5 separate regions of the Homo sapiens genome follow, and all the other regions are linked to region 1. The links are contacts of gene promoters, found by promoter capture Hi-C in blood cells and fetal thymus (Javierre and others, 2016). All regions are on one chromosome and are shown on one strand. The core of a region is centred on a gene start or on the middle of the fragment in contact, and the rest is flanking DNA. Distances in the headings are between cores, read along the strand shown. Region 1 holds the start of TIGD2 (tigger transposable element derived 2). Region 2 overlaps HERC3 (HECT and RLD domain containing E3 ubiquitin protein ligase 3). Region 3 holds the start of NAP1L5 (nucleosome assembly protein 1 like 5). Region 4 overlaps FAM13A (family with sequence similarity 13 member A). Region 5 overlaps FAM13A (family with sequence similarity 13 member A).

Region 1 (2,883 bases), core at 192-2,691:
TCTAGCAGTCTTTCACGCTCTTCACAGGTATCAGGGAAAATAAGAATATTTTGTAAAGTTATATAAAACTACCATGAAGTAAGTTATAATGTACCCAAAACAGGCAACCAGGACTTCCAGAAAGGGACTGGCTTGTTGGAAGCCAAATGGAAGGCAGGGAAGAGGGGAGGTCTAAAAGCAGGTATTCTCCAAAAGCCACTTACAACCTCACAACATAACTAGATCAAAGAATTTCTGTCATGCCAGATAGTGGAAGGCTGCTATGTTGAGAAAGGCAATTGAGCAGTTTTGGCGGCGGAGTCAAACAGAAGGCTTAGAATCAACATCTGTTTTCTACAGTATGCTCGCTTTGATTTCCATCTCCAAGTTTCTGAAATTCCAGAAACAGTATATGGCCTTGTCAAAGAAATGACGAATTACTATGTTACTTTGTGTTAACGAAAAGGTTACATTTATGTTCATATGGAAGAGATAATTCACTGAAGAATTTCCAATTTTTCAAACTGACACGCACACACAAGACGGAAAGGAAGGCAGCCTGACCGCGTTTCCCAGGAAACAGGTGGTGCAAGGTGGAGGTGCACCACTCTCTCCTCCAGGAAGGCGGTGACCCTTCCGCAGATGTCTCCGTTGGAAACAAATAAAGGGAGTATCAGTCAAAGCGCAATTCCCCGATTCCACTTGAGAAGCCCCGGGCGTCGAGGCACGGCAGGAAATTTACCACGACGCCTCCCACTGGCTCAAGGGTCTCCCAGGTGCTGTCGATTTTGCAAAGGGTCCGTCTCTACAGCGACTGTGACGAGTTTCGGAGCATCAGCACCGGGGAGCGCTGACCCGACACTCGGCTCTACCGCAGCCCGCCGCGCCTCGGCACCCTGGGCTTGTCCGGCTGGGTGTTGCCGAGCGAACGCCCCAGCTCCTGCCCGGAACCCACGTCCGCCGGCTCCTACCGTGCCTCATGATCCTCGCTCGGGCTAGCACTTTCCACGCGCGCTGACTCTGGGCTCCGACACCTGGACCGCCTCCGCAAGGCGGCGCGGCTGCTGTTTGTAAACACGCCCCACGTGCGCTCGCCCTGCCCCATTCGCAGCCCGCTCCCGGCACGCGAGGATCCTCCGCTTTCCCCCCAGCACTGGGGGGGTGAGATTTTAAAATTTCCCCCTAGGGAGAAAAGAGCCTCGTCGGCAGAGCCGGGCCACTGGGAAAAGCGCCAGGACAAGGCGAGCGTGTGCCTCCCCCTGCCGGCCAGGGAGGCACTGCGGCCCCGAAACGGCCAGGCGGTGAGTGGAACCCACGCAGCGCCTAGAGACGCACCCCTGCCGGGCCCCCGCCCCTCCCGCCCGCTCGCCGGAGTCCCCTCCCCCGGGCCGCGTGCGCTCACCCGCGCAGGCCCCGCCCCCTCGCCGGCACAACGTTCTGCGGGGGCGCGCGCGTGCTCTCTAATCCCCCGCCTTCCGGCTCCGGCGGCGACGCTCGTCCCTCTCCGCTCGTCCCTCGCCGCTGCCGGGCCACCAGTGCCAGCCTGCCTCAGGAGACTCCATTTGCGCTTAGTGTGGTCTGGGCGCCGCGCAGGCGGTCCCAGGGCGATGCCCGGGGCCGGCGGACTGGCGTTCCCTGTGCCAAGCGGCCGCCCGCTGGCTGGCTGGCTGCAGCAGTGACATCCTGGTCGCCGGCGTCCAGGCGGAATCCGGGCTCCCTCCGCGGGAGGAAAGACGTCCCGCGCTCTGAAGCTCGCCCAGCGGGGAGAGGCCCTCGCTAACACGGCTTCTCCCTGACCTCTTAATTTCAGGAGGTAGGCTCTTCAGGTCCCTCTCTCTGTCACCCCAGATTATGCCTGAAAGCATTATTTGTCGTATTTAGCTATCACATTGATAGGAGGCGTTAATTTTCTCAACATAGTTGCAGGATAAATGTGGATAATGCCACAGATCCTGATGTTGAATTGAAAGAAAATGTTTTTGGTATTTTCCTTTAGGTTTCGGAGCCTCCGAGTATCTCTACAGCCCCCACAGGAACTGCTTCTGTTGGTCCATCGAGGATCGTCTTTCACCAGGATTATTGTAACATCATCTTCACCGAGCCTGCCACCCCATAGCCTCTACCTTGGGTCCTCATTTCCACCGATGCAGTTTTTTTGATGCTTTCTTTAGTAATGTGACATCACATGTCCACTATCCTCCTTTCCAGCTGCCAAATCTAGTAGGTTTAAGTCGCTTTTAAAGTAGAGTTTTCTGCCTGTTCCACTTTCACCTTATTTGCACTGTTCACTTCTGTCCGGGTCATCTTCTCTTGCGTATGATTTCCACAAGCACTCACTTGCGCAACCTATAGCAGAGTCCGTGCCTAGAGAGACAGCATTCCATACAATCCACTGCTTGACAAAGACCACATAGTCAGAGGGTGAGTTTTCCCATTGTATTTTCCTGTATGTCAAGTTTGCAAGTCCTCTCTTGACTTAAACTGTTTACTCCCTAGCACATTTCCTAAAATACTTCCACCTGAGATTTAGTGGCTATTCTGGCAAAGAACATTACCTGCAAGGATGGCAAGAATTGAGTATGCAATAGTACTGTTTTAGAAGCCTTACCAGTACAGTTTCTAGCCTCTAGTGTGATTGCACTTCATGAAAGACCCTGAACCCTGAGGAGGAAGAAAGATAGAAGATAAGAGTTAATTGGCGCTAGGCTTTGTTGTAGGAAGTTTGTAAGTTTTAAAATAGCAAGTAGATTCACGTAGACCTTGTCAGGAAATTGGTCACTATCCATCTAGGCCCTAGAAGTGAGAGGAGGAATCTTACGAACTCATTTTCTAGTTGCTTTGTATTCAAATCTTAGTTGTTAATTATCTTGTTCTAGTAATCACCTAAAATATTAGACACTTAAA
Region 2 (2,883 bases), core at 160-2,659, 500 kb before region 1:
AGCCAGTGATGGCCACCCTCTTCCCACCCTCCTTGTCTGTCTTCTCTGTGGCTTGGTCTTCTATCAGGCAGCCTCACTGCAGAGTCAGTTGCTCAGATATGCCTCAGTGCACACCTTGGTCTTGGAACTTGGGGGAGAGGATTCACCCTGGGGTAGCAGCTGGGAAAGGAAGCAAAAACCTCGCAGAACAATGATAGCAAAGATCTGTAGAAGGCATCATAATGAATACATCTGAGTGCAACGAGACATTTCTCTAGCACAGCCTCCTGATGCAGCTCCAAGGAGCTAATGGTAGGTGTTGCTGGGCCTCTGGATGTGAGTGAGCTCTGGCAAAGCAGCCGCACTGCGTCTGTCTGCATACTGGGTCAGCTGGCCCTCAGTCATCCTGCAGACGCCCTCCCCACAGGGCTGAGTGACTGCAAGAATCCCAAGCTAGAGGTGTGCCAAGAAGGCTTTGGGATTCAGCCTCGGAATCCAGCCCATGCTTGTGATCTAAATTTGGAATAAGGCAGGCTGTAGTGTAAATTACAAGAGATTCCAGAAATTTCTGTTGTTGGTTAAGCTTGTCTGTTAATTATAAACTCCATAGCAGCTTGGAATAATGCCTCTTTGAATGGAAAGATTATGTGGGTGGGTGCCTCCCTCTCTCCATTTAACTTTTTCGTTGGTAGGTGTGTTCTAAATCTGGATATGATTTGCGTTTGTTTTTAATGAGTGGGAAGAAGAGAATGAACTTGTTTTCTGTGTTTGCTTATTGAGAACCATGACCTGGAGAGCTGCTAGACATGGAAGGGAAGTCTGTGGCAGGCCTAGTTTGTTACAGGTATCTGTTGGTCTTGGCCCACAGGAATGCTACCCCCAAGTAGCTTCTGTGGTATTTGGGAAGGGAACATGATGGAAGGCCCCTTCCTTAAAAGAGGATTTTTCTGGGGGTTATGGGCAGGTCTGTGATTTCAGCTTGGTATCATTGCCCAGATTGGTTGACTTTGAAATATGAAGGATTTTAAAAAGTGAGTGTATGACTGTTCCTCTAAGGCTTTGAGAGTGTGAAGAAGTGAGTTGAAGGAGTTAATTCCATGGTGGCCAACTCCAAGTGGCTTACAGAGTTTTGAACCCAAGTGGCAAACTTAAGTTTCTTTTTCTTGCTTTGCAGTACTGGCTGTGAATGGAGTAATGCCTGACCATCAACACTTACTTTGCTGATTGGACTTGTTAATATTTCTAGTCCTAGCAGGGTGTCCACCAGCATGGGTATGGTCATCTAGCACTAGTCTGGAGGAGAATTTATTTCATTGCCTTGAAACTTTGTTTCCTGTTAAAATGCAAACAACCCTGGGAGCCACATAATCTGACCTTCCTGAGGGGAAGGAAAGTTGAAAGAAGGTACTGGTGTAGGAGATGCACCTGGACAAGTCTTCTAATGTGTGCCTTGATTCTGTCCTGCTAGTCATCATATACCATGTTATACACTCTGTCTCTAACTGGTTCAGCTGCAAGGCACATCAATTCATTTTTTTGGGATGCATTCTGTAGATGTGCCAGAGCAGTGATATAAAGCACCTCTCAGTGATTCTAAGGGTTTTGGAGATCCTTTTTTTCCTTCTTAAGAATATGTAACAGTTAACTATTGCTGTTGCTGACCCTGAGACTACTGTGGTTTCTTTGTACTCTCATTTCTGTACTTCTCACATTAGCAATACCCTTATGTGACCAACTGTGTGTGTGTGTGTGTGTGTGTGTGTGTGTGTGTGTGGTAAGAAGGAGGCATTTCAAAGATACATCAAATTCTGAAACTCCTGGTTATTCAGGCCCCAGATATTTTCCCAGTGTGTCAGGCAGCACACAGAGTTCTAGCTTAGGTGTGTCCATGACTCATTTGTGATTTGGCCAAGGGCATAGAGGCCTGTGATTCCCAGAAGCATTTTTCAGATGTAGTATATTAAGCCCCATCTAAACTCAATTTCCAGCTTTAAAAAAAAGTATTGGATTATAAGTCTTTTGCACATTCCTCTCTCACATGACTTTTCTCTCCTTCATTCTCACCTTTGCATTCAGACATATACCTCATCCCTCCCCGACAAAGCAGACAGAGTTTTTGTGATTGGAGTCATCATAGGGTTATTACTAATTTCCTTATGGTTTTTGTCCATGAATTTATTTTATAATTTTCTAAGACATAAAGTTACAGAGCTGGCATTTTAGGAAGTCTTGTGTGCCTTCCCCACTTTTTTTTTAATAAAGCAAGCAAACAAAACATAAGCTTTTTTTTCCTGAATGTTATTTTTTATAAGTGACTAAGTGGACATTAAGTAAATCTTGAGCTCTTTTATTAAACTAGAGACTGGTTGTCCATAGAAAGGATTCAATAAATACCTTAATTTACCATGCCTCTCATATTCCTACCTAGCCACATTGTAAACAGTACTCTTCAGCTAAATGAATAGTTCTCCTTTCCTCATACATACTCTGATTTCTAATATTGGGATTTTAGGGTAAGCTAATCTCTGTGTTATTAGGGATATCTGAACTTACATAAGTGTCTTCTAATCTTTCTCCCTATCTTGAATAGACAAGAACCGTGGTAGGGGCAGTTATTTAGTGTAATCTAATTTGACTCTGCTAAATTTTAAAATTCTCTGTAGACATACCAGGAAATCTTCTTATAGCAGAGCCCAAGGGTAACAATTTATAAGCAAGCTCTAACATTTCTGTGCAACTCTATTTGATTCATCTCTGTGATTGGTTCCTTTTACTTTCTCCTGAGTTAGTTTCCCTCTTGCAGGTAATTTAATCCAATTCACATTCGCACTTTGTATTCAGTCTAAGCATTTCCCTAATGCCCATCACCATATGTAACAGCTTTCCTGCTGTTTGATAAATGAG
Region 3 (2,883 bases), core at 204-2,703, 410 kb before region 1:
TCTACATCTCTTCAAGTAAATTAATATTTCTAAAACGCTAGGTAAAGTGATTTAATACTTAAACATATTTGGGGTATTTTTTACGTGTTTGTAAATAGACAGTACTAAGAAAACACAAACATGAGATTGTAACTAATGAATACATATGTTGACAGTATTTTACAGGTTTTACACCCTCCTTCTTGGAACCATGTTGTTTCTCTAAATTCAAATACTCAAAACATTTTTCAGAACTTGAAATGGCAGTTTTCCTGGCCTTATTAACAGTAGTGTCATGATCTCCATTGCAATCTTCCTCAATGCCATCAATCTCCTGTGAAGTGTAAAGCTGATGTCTGCGTTACAAAAGCAAAGTCTCAAAGATGACGTTTTTCTTGGGTTCTGCCTTCTCTGCACTGCGAAATGTCATGAGTAAAGAAATTTAAGAATTAAGCACTGAGAACGTGTTCAGTCATGGCTTGGGTGTTCCATGTGTAGCGTATGCTGTGTGATGAATGGGTTTCAAAGTGACGTTCTTTACTTCGCATCTGCTAACACCCTTTGTAAACCTCAATCCTCAGAGAAGAGACCATGAAAACATAATTTTGGGTTTAATTCAGTTTTCTTTAACACCTTTTGATATATTTATTATGTTCAAAATGAAAGTCAAATTTGAATCGAGCTGGCCAGGATCTAATTGCTTTAATTTAATCTATTTTAGGAATGTCAGAATAAATTCACATTGTATTTTGGTCAAAAACCTGAGCCTTTTTAAGTCCATCGATATTCTGGGAAAAACAAAACCAGGCTTTTTTCTTCGTGGGCTTTCTCTTCATCCATCTCTGCCCCCCTTACTTCTTGGCGTCATCAGGCATCTCGGCGTGGGCATCGTCATGTTTGGCCCCCGCGGCAGCCTCTGCCGCAGCCTCCTCCTCCTCCTCGTCTTCCCCCTCCTCCTCGTCATCCTCGTACTCCTCTTCCTCCTCCTCCTCCCCCTCCAAGGTCCATGCACACCCCTCCATCTCGCCGGTGAGCTCTTGGATCTTGGCGAGTAGGGGCTTATAGATGTCATTATACTTTTTTTCCAGAGCCTGAAATTCCTTATCAAATTTGGCTTCTATCTTATCGCATCGCTTCTGCAGCTTTTTGAGGGCCAGGACTCGGCATTTCACCGAATTAGGCAGGCTCTCGATAAAGTCATTTTTCGGCTTTGGGGCATTCTCTGCAGGGGTCTGGGGCTCCTCAGCCATCTGACCAGCCGCGCTGTCAGGGTCACCAGCCGCGCTGTCACAGTCTCCACCCTGCGCACCGCCTTCCGCCATTACCTCCTCTGCCGCTGCCTCCGCCGCTGCCGCCGCCTGGCTAGGCTCCGCAGGCCCCTGGTTTTCCGAGTCGGCCATGTTAGAGGAGAAGCCGCAGAGGTCTAGGAGGGCTCCCGCAGAGGCCCTGCACCCGAGCTGGTCCAGAGAGATCTTGCGGATGCGGCAAGTGGCGGTGACGTGCGGCCGCGGGAATGACGTTGGCCGCGGCCCCGCCTCCTGCTTTCGCGGCACTTGACTGGCTTCCCACTATCAGCTGACGGCCGTGTGCTCATACTGCACCAGATTCCTCCTGTTGCTACCCTGACATCTTCTGGGCCCTCAACACCCGCCTGTTGGACAGACACCCTGTTCCCAGCCCACCCATGTACCCACCCCTGTAGAGCTGGGCTGGGAGTGTCAGTAGCTGCCCGAGGTGCTTCTTCAGGAACTGCATAGATGGCCTCAGACCATTTTCCGTGTGCTCCTCACCCCCATCCAGGCCCTTCTACAAATGCCAGTGCATATGTCTTCGCTTTCCTCTGCATCTCTCTCCATAGCTGGCGTTTGATCACCTCTTAGATTCCTCCGCATTCCTCTCCATGCAGTGGAGGAACGGGCAAGCTGGCTCCATTCCACCCCTTTGGGGACCTGGGGTGCATGTGTGTGGATAGGGCAGCTTGCATATCCAAGCTCTGTACCTATGTGTCCACCCAACACCCCCTTGGCCATCCCACACACCTAGCGGCATATATCTTGGTGGCAAGGTCGTCTCTCAGCAGGACTCCCCTGGAAGCAGTTTTGGAGCCATTTGGGTAGGAAATCTCAGAGCTCCCGGTGTCCTGGTGTGTGTTCTAGAAGATCCTACAGAATCTTTGGCCTGTGGGAAGGACTAAAGCTTGAGGAGGGCTGAAAAAAAGCAAGTCTTTCTAAAGCATGGGGCCCAGGGCCAAGGCCCCCTCTTATCTTGGTTAAAGCATGTGCCATCTATCCCACCCCGCTCACATTCGTCTTCCCTGCCTTCCCCCAACACCGTCTGCTTCCCTGCCTTCCCCACTATCTGTTTTCACACCTTTCCACACCACATCTTCTCCCTCCCTCCTGCCCCTCCCCCGCACTGACTTATGCCCCACCTTCTGCCCATCTTCTTCCCCGCCTTCTTCCCCACTCACTGCCTCCTTCCTCACCTTCCCCCCGCCGCACTGTCCTTTTCCCCACCTTCCTCACCCTCTTCTTCCCCACCCTCCTTACCCTCTTCTTCCCCACCTTCCTCACCCTCCTCACCCCCTTCTTCCTCACCCACTGCCTTCTTCCTCACCTTCCCCCCACCGAACTTTTTCCTCACGCTCCTCACCCTCTTCTTCCTCACCCTCTTCACCCTCTTCTTCCTCACGCTCCTCACCCTCTTCTTCCTCACCCTCTTCACCCTCTTCTTCCTCACGCTCCTCACCCTCTTCTTCCTCACCCTCTTCACCCTCTTCTTCCTCACGCTCCTCACCCTCTTCTTCCTCACCCTCTTCACCCTCTTCTTCCTCACGCTCCTCACCCTCTTCTTCCTCACCCTCTTCACCCTCTTCTTCCCCACCCCCTAGCCCCACCCTCTTCC
Region 4 (2,883 bases), core at 237-2,736, 300 kb before region 1:
TGATCAAGAAATTGATCATTATGCCAAAGAAACACCATGCCAAACAAACAAAAAAACCTGCCACTAAAAACCTATAATGATTTTGTTATTCTAGGAAAGGCCTCCATATTTTGTAAAATTAGTACTACATACTTTCTTTGCCCAGAACAGATCCTTTACTCTAACATGTAGCAAACTGAAGGAAAATTAACATGGTTACTGTAACATTCTTTGATGTGCATTCAATTAGCAATATGCTTGATTTTCTTAAGTGCTTTTGAGAGATGATTTAAATGGTTCAGGGCTCTGAACACAGCTGTTTATGTGTCTTAGCTATTTGTGTGTGTCTGTGTGCTAAATTTCTCTGCAGCAAACAGAAGCAATACTTTTTTCCTTTCATCTCCCTCACAAATTTCATATCAATTATGACTGCGGGCCAGATCCTACCACAGGTCCTACATTAATTATCTCAATTAGATACTCACAAAACTTCCCTGGTTCTGGCTTCTTGCTCCTTAATTCTGGTGAGAAAAGCAGTCTCAGAGTGAGTACATAACTCATTCAGATGATGCAGCTAGTGATGTGTAAATTACTGTATTACATGTTAGTTCATTTTTCTTACTTATTGTTTTCCCTTGATTTTTAACTTACTAAAGTACAGCGAGATGACTAGGTTAGTGAAGAAAATGCATTCGATGGCCAGTCTGCATTCCAGCAGCCACAACAAGATCTCGTGGACTTGATAAGCTCCTTGTCATGCTTCTGATTATGGCAACTCTACATCACCTTAGTCAAAGTCCATCCATAATGCATTATGCCTGACAGCACTTATAAGGTGATTAATTTATTAAAATATACTGGCACGATGTCAAGAATGTCTCTTGATAGAAACACAAGATTTTAATCATAAGCAAATATTTTATCTGGCCTGCATTTGCACAAAGTAAATTCATCAATGAAAGACAAAATAAGAAATTCTTAATTTGGCTATGCCCCTGAATTTTGACCAGTTTTTGTTCTAAAAAAGAAAATGTAAGCACTGAAATTTAAGTAAAATAAAGCAGAGTCAGTATTACATTTAGTCAACAATCAGCAGTTAACAGTGGAGCAATCCATGCACAGTCCCTGAGAAAAACAATATAATTTGGAAAGAAAATGAGGGTAAATAAATCAATTTTTATTTTAAAAGCTTATTTCTATTTTCCCTTTCATAAAAGTACCCTTTTCTGGGATTTAGTAATACAATCTAAACAAAGGCATAAATTTTGAGACAACTAAATCATTGATTTCAAATTGATTAAGCCAACTAATTTTAGAAATAAATTTAATGCATTGACTTCGAAGGTAATTTTAAGGAAAAATGGCCACGGACAATTCTTCCAAATAAAATCAACAAAATAAACTTTTCCACAAAATGCACAAACCAGAATGCACATTTGAAAAAATTACCATTTTTATACAGCTGTACAAAGATATTGTACTATTACTACAGGCTCCAAAACATCTTTAACAAAGATCATTTACACCTATTTCTGTTTTCGTGTCAATCTGTCATGTTCAATGATACTAAAGGATTTTGCCTAAACTCTAACTTGAGCATAATTTGTCATAATTTTTTCCTAAAGATGAAATTGAGAATTAATTCTGATTCACTTTTAATTTTTAAAAATAAGCACATGTTCTGTGAATGAAGAAGGAAGTGTGTGTCATGAAATTAAACCAATGACAAATTGAAACAACTTAGAATTCATTCGATTTCCTCCTTGGTTACCAGTAAAAACTCCGTGTTTTAATTATTTCCTATTTGCTGACTCTCAATAATGACCAAGCTTAAGCAGCCAATTATAAGTAGTTTACTTAAAAAAAAAAATCAAACATACATTGAGAGATTTGGGCAATCACCTCATTTATGTGATTATGCTTAATGTTCTCAGATACATGGTACTATATTCTCAAAATAACTGCTTGTAGGAAGAACATTTATCATATAGACCTAAATAACAGTCTAAATCTAAGAAGCTACAACTAAGAATGCCAATAACTTAGATATTTTTATCTACGTTTTAGCAGAGTCCTGTCTAACTTATTTTTTATACAGCTTGACATTGGTTAATGCACATAAATAAATGACACCTAGACTGATAATCTCTTCATGAGTTACCCTAATTTCTAAACTGAAGCCACAGAATGCAGTGCAATGCCTATCAGTTTAATTATACAGCAAGCTAAAGGAAATCATGAAAGGCATAGTGTTGTATATGTCTAAGAAAAACCAAATAATGTTGGGAGAATTCCCAGGGCAAGTACCCAGAATGGATCTTCAATTACTCGATCAAACCACCATTCCATTCCATTCCCTTTTTAACTCTCCAATTACTTCAACTTTCTAATTGGTTAATGTGGCTGGCTACCAGAAAATTAACATAATTTGCATATTTAGCCACACACTTTAAATATATTTCTAAGTGGTTTGAGACAGAAGAAATAGTTTGTAAGTGTTCCTTGAATACTGAAAAGTACAGAAAAACAAGTAAATGCTAAGAATTCGGTCCCATTCATTGAAGAAACTAGAAAAACCATCCATGAGGCTTAAAAAACAAAACAAGGAGCAAAAGAGAAAGTGAGGGACAAGTATAAAGAAACAAAAGAAAAGTATAAAGTAAACATTTTTTCAGGAACTCAGGCATTTTCCACATGTGCTACAAATGTAAGGGGAGGAATTTTCTTAGAGAATGATAAGTGAAGTTAGCACATTTTCCTTTCCTTCCTTGTTCTCAAAACATAAAGTGCAACACATGTACTTGAGCATTTTCAATTTATCCACAGTCTCAGTCGTTAACCATGCCCCTTGCCAACTGGGGAGGTACGTGGCAGCCACTGTTCTGTTGCTTAGGTTTTTGGTTT
Region 5 (2,883 bases), core at 159-2,658, 280 kb before region 1:
TGTGATGTCCACAGAGGATAGCCTGCAATCATACCAACTGGCACGTAGGATTAAAAAAAAAAAAAAAAAAACCATTCCTGACCCTCCTGAGCATTTAGTTATTTCTAAAATGGGTTCCCTAGCATCTTCCACTTCTTCCCCCTTTATAAGTCCTGCCATCTGGGCTGTCTATTGCCAGAGTGCTAACGATTGCAAAAGAAAATCTCATAACTTGGTAACTAGTTATACTAAAAATTCGTAATACTTAAACTTAGTTTGAACCACAATACTGTGTTACAACCTTTTTTATTATCTTTGACTGTTCACTGCATTCCCGCTTCAAATCTTCTCCAGTGCCACAAAACAGAACCTCTCTCACTCACTAATTATTTCACCTGCCAATTGACTGAGAAAATCAAGATCATCAAATATAAGCGAGTGCCTTTGGTCTTCTCTGCTCCACCTACCACTCCTGTTCCCACTCCAGCACACATCTTGCCTCACTCTTTATGACGTCCTCTTGGTTTAGGAGAAAGGGTCCTCACATATAGGTCTCAAGCCTCTTATCTGTGTATTGGATCTCATCATTTTCTCCTTCCTCTGGAAGAAGCCTGGTCTCTCCTACATCTTGAATCTGCCCCTCGCTACTTGCTTCTCCTCCCTTCTGACAGGCAACCAAGTGAGTGTCCCTCAGTATTAGAAAGTGCTTCTCAGCAGTCCTACCCTCTGGTGCTGCAGAGCTATTTCCCTCTTCCTTCCCCACTTACAGACTTCCCCCAAATCTATCTCTGCTGCCTCCACTTCCTCATAAATTACTTATTCCTCCATCCCATGCCAATGGACTTCGACCTTTACCACTTTTCCAAAACTGCTTTTAGGGTCTTTTGACCACTAAATCCAAATGCCTTTTCTTAGATCCTCTCCTACTCTTGACTTTTCTGAAACACTCACCTTCAGTTTTCTGAAAGTCTTTGGTTCTCTGTGATCTTTCTTGGGAATTCACCAAACCTTCTTGATCAACATTCGCCTTTGATTTCATCTGTCTTTCCTCCTCGTTTAGCCCTGCCTCCAAGCCCAACACCATTCAATACACGCATTCAATAAATTGGGCGCTGCAATTACACCTCTGGGGGCTGGATCCTGACTTCACCCCTGACAGGCAGTGCAAACTTGGGCAGGTTGTTTAAAAGCTCTGAGGCTGCTCTGAGGAATAAATGAGGCCATGCATGTAAAATATATAGAATAGTGCCTGGCAAATAGTTAAGTGCTCAATAATTATTAGTATTATCAACCCAATCAAACATTCAAGACTTCATATTATCTGATCTCCAAATTTCTCTTCCTCCTGGCCCTTCTTGATAATGATGTAATTATTCCCTTTGTGAATCAGATTTAAACCATGAGTCATCTTTACTCCTCCCTCTCCTCTCCTACCCTCAACCAAATCTATTGATTGACCTGTCATGTTTCTTTAATCAATCTGCCTAGGTTATCTGTACTCTTAGGATAACGTTCAAAATATTCTTTCTGCCACCATAGCACACATTCCACTATTAGTCAACATCCTACCATGCTTGCGATTTGGTAACTCATTTTTGTACTCAAAAACTTCAATAGCTCCCAACTACCTCTTACATGAACCCCAATCCTTTTAATGTGATGATTAGAACATTCCACCTATTAACCCCAATTTGCCTCTCCAGTTCAGTTGCTTAAACCTCCCCTGAGGAAACAACTCCAGATATGCCTGGGTCACTATTTTCAAATCTGCCCTGAACTTTTCTATCCTAAATATTTGCTCATGCTGTTCCCTCTGTCTGGAATATTTTCCCATTTCATTCCCTTCAGGAAAAATCCTACCTATACTTTAGGTCTAGGCTAATTGAAAGAAATGTTTTTTTGTTTGTTTGTTTTTGAGACAGGGTCTCTCTCTGTTGTCCAGGCTGGAGTGTAATGGCAGGCACCATCACAACTCACTGCAGCCTTTACCTCCTGGGCTCAAGTGTGCCTCCCACCTCAGCCTCCTGAGTAGCTGAGACCACAGGCGCATGCTAAAATGCCTGGATAATTTATTTTTTGTAGAGATGAGGTTCTTACTATGTTGCCCAGGCTGGTCTTGAACTCCTGGGCTCAAGCAGTCTTCTCACCTTGGCCTCTCAAAGTGTTGGGATTACAGATGTGAGCCACTATGTTTGGCCAAAGAAATCTCTTGACCTTTTAAAGTCATACAGCCCTTTGTATCGATGATGATTTTTATCTTTTTTTCCTGTACAGTTTTATTATTATTTGAATCTGCTGTATATATTATCTTCCTTTTGGAATGAAAATTTTCCACAACAGGAACTGTATCTTTCCTGCAGCCCTGACACAGAACACTCAATAAGTGCAGAATGAATTAATGGATACATCAATTACTCTTCTATAGATTCTGAAGTATAGCTCCTTTTATTAGATTTAAACTTATCAAGCAATATTCTACCCACTTTTTAACACTTTCTACTGTAGGGCTACACATAAGATAAACTGGATGCCACATGTAGGTTCAAATGAAAAATAATACTAACAAATAACTGGCTTAAGGAATAAACTACCTGGGTTATATATTGATGTGCAATCACAGATGTGCTAAAAGTAAGATTCTATCCAAAACTTCTGAAATCTTTTAAGCATTCTACATTATCCAGTTTCTCCTAGGTTGTCAATTTCCTTTTACACGTTTTAGCTGGCTTGCAGATTTCTAATTTTCTTACATAACTTCTTCAGCAAATTCCAAGTGTTTGGCAATATCTGCATTTGCTCTTGTCCTATCAAGAGCAACAAAAACCATGTGGCTGTGTTTCTTTTAATTTCAACATCAAGTGAAAACAACCAAAGAACCAAGAACATTTCTTGGCCACAGTAATG

The links. Contacts are between HindIII fragments. The CHiCAGO score rates a contact against its expected background, and 5 or more counts as called.
Region 2: a contact is called between a fragment that was not itself captured here and the fragment with the promoter of TIGD2 in region 1, in 1 of 17 cell types (naive B cells). The highest score is 5.2, in naive B cells.
Region 3: the fragment with the promoter of NAP1L5 here is called in contact with the fragment with the promoter of TIGD2 in region 1 in 1 of 17 cell types (megakaryocytes); the score reaches 5.8 in megakaryocytes.
Region 4: a contact is called between a fragment that was not itself captured here and the fragment with the promoter of TIGD2 in region 1, in 2 of 17 cell types (megakaryocytes and naive CD4 T cells). The highest score is 6.1, in megakaryocytes.
Region 5: a fragment that was not itself captured here is called in contact with the fragment with the promoter of TIGD2 in region 1 in 1 of 17 cell types (fetal thymus); the score reaches 5.4 in fetal thymus.

The regions. Positions count from the first base shown.
Region 1 is chr4:89,110,092-89,112,974 of GRCh38, forward strand. It overlaps TIGD2 (tigger transposable element derived 2), which reads left to right and starts at 1,442. Exons shown (of 2, transcript NM_145715.3): 1 at 1,442-1,792; 2 at 1,976-2,883. RefSeq lists enhancers at 950-1,059, 1,090-1,169 and a silencer at 1,250-1,699. The HindIII fragment of the contact is 10,355 bases long and covers 1-2,883 here.
Region 2 is chr4:88,610,575-88,613,457 of GRCh38, forward strand. All of the region lies in intron 3 of HERC3 (HECT and RLD domain containing E3 ubiquitin protein ligase 3), which reads left to right. Among named protein-coding and RNA genes, the nearest start is that of HERC3, 20 kb to the left of the region's middle. The HindIII fragment of the contact is 1,698 bases long and covers 561-2,258 here.
Region 3 is chr4:88,696,376-88,699,258 of GRCh38, forward strand. It overlaps NAP1L5 (nucleosome assembly protein 1 like 5), which reads right to left and starts at 1,454. Exons shown (of 1, transcript NM_153757.4): 1 at 1-1,454. The coding sequence starts at 1,379. The coding sequence ends at 831. The region is part of intron 23 of HERC3 (HECT and RLD domain containing E3 ubiquitin protein ligase 3); the gene reads left to right. RefSeq lists an enhancer at 1,544-1,603. The HindIII fragment of the contact is 2,584 bases long and covers 1-2,173 here.
Region 4 is chr4:88,806,943-88,809,825 of GRCh38, forward strand. The region is part of intron 7 of FAM13A (family with sequence similarity 13 member A); the gene reads right to left. Among named protein-coding and RNA genes, the nearest start is that of FAM13A-AS1, 99 kb to the left of the region's middle. The HindIII fragment of the contact is 640 bases long and covers 1,167-1,806 here.
Region 5 is chr4:88,826,261-88,829,143 of GRCh38, forward strand. All of the region lies in intron 7 of FAM13A (family with sequence similarity 13 member A), which reads right to left. Among named protein-coding and RNA genes, the nearest start is that of FAM13A-AS1, 120 kb to the left of the region's middle. The HindIII fragment of the contact is 5,356 bases long and covers 1-2,883 here.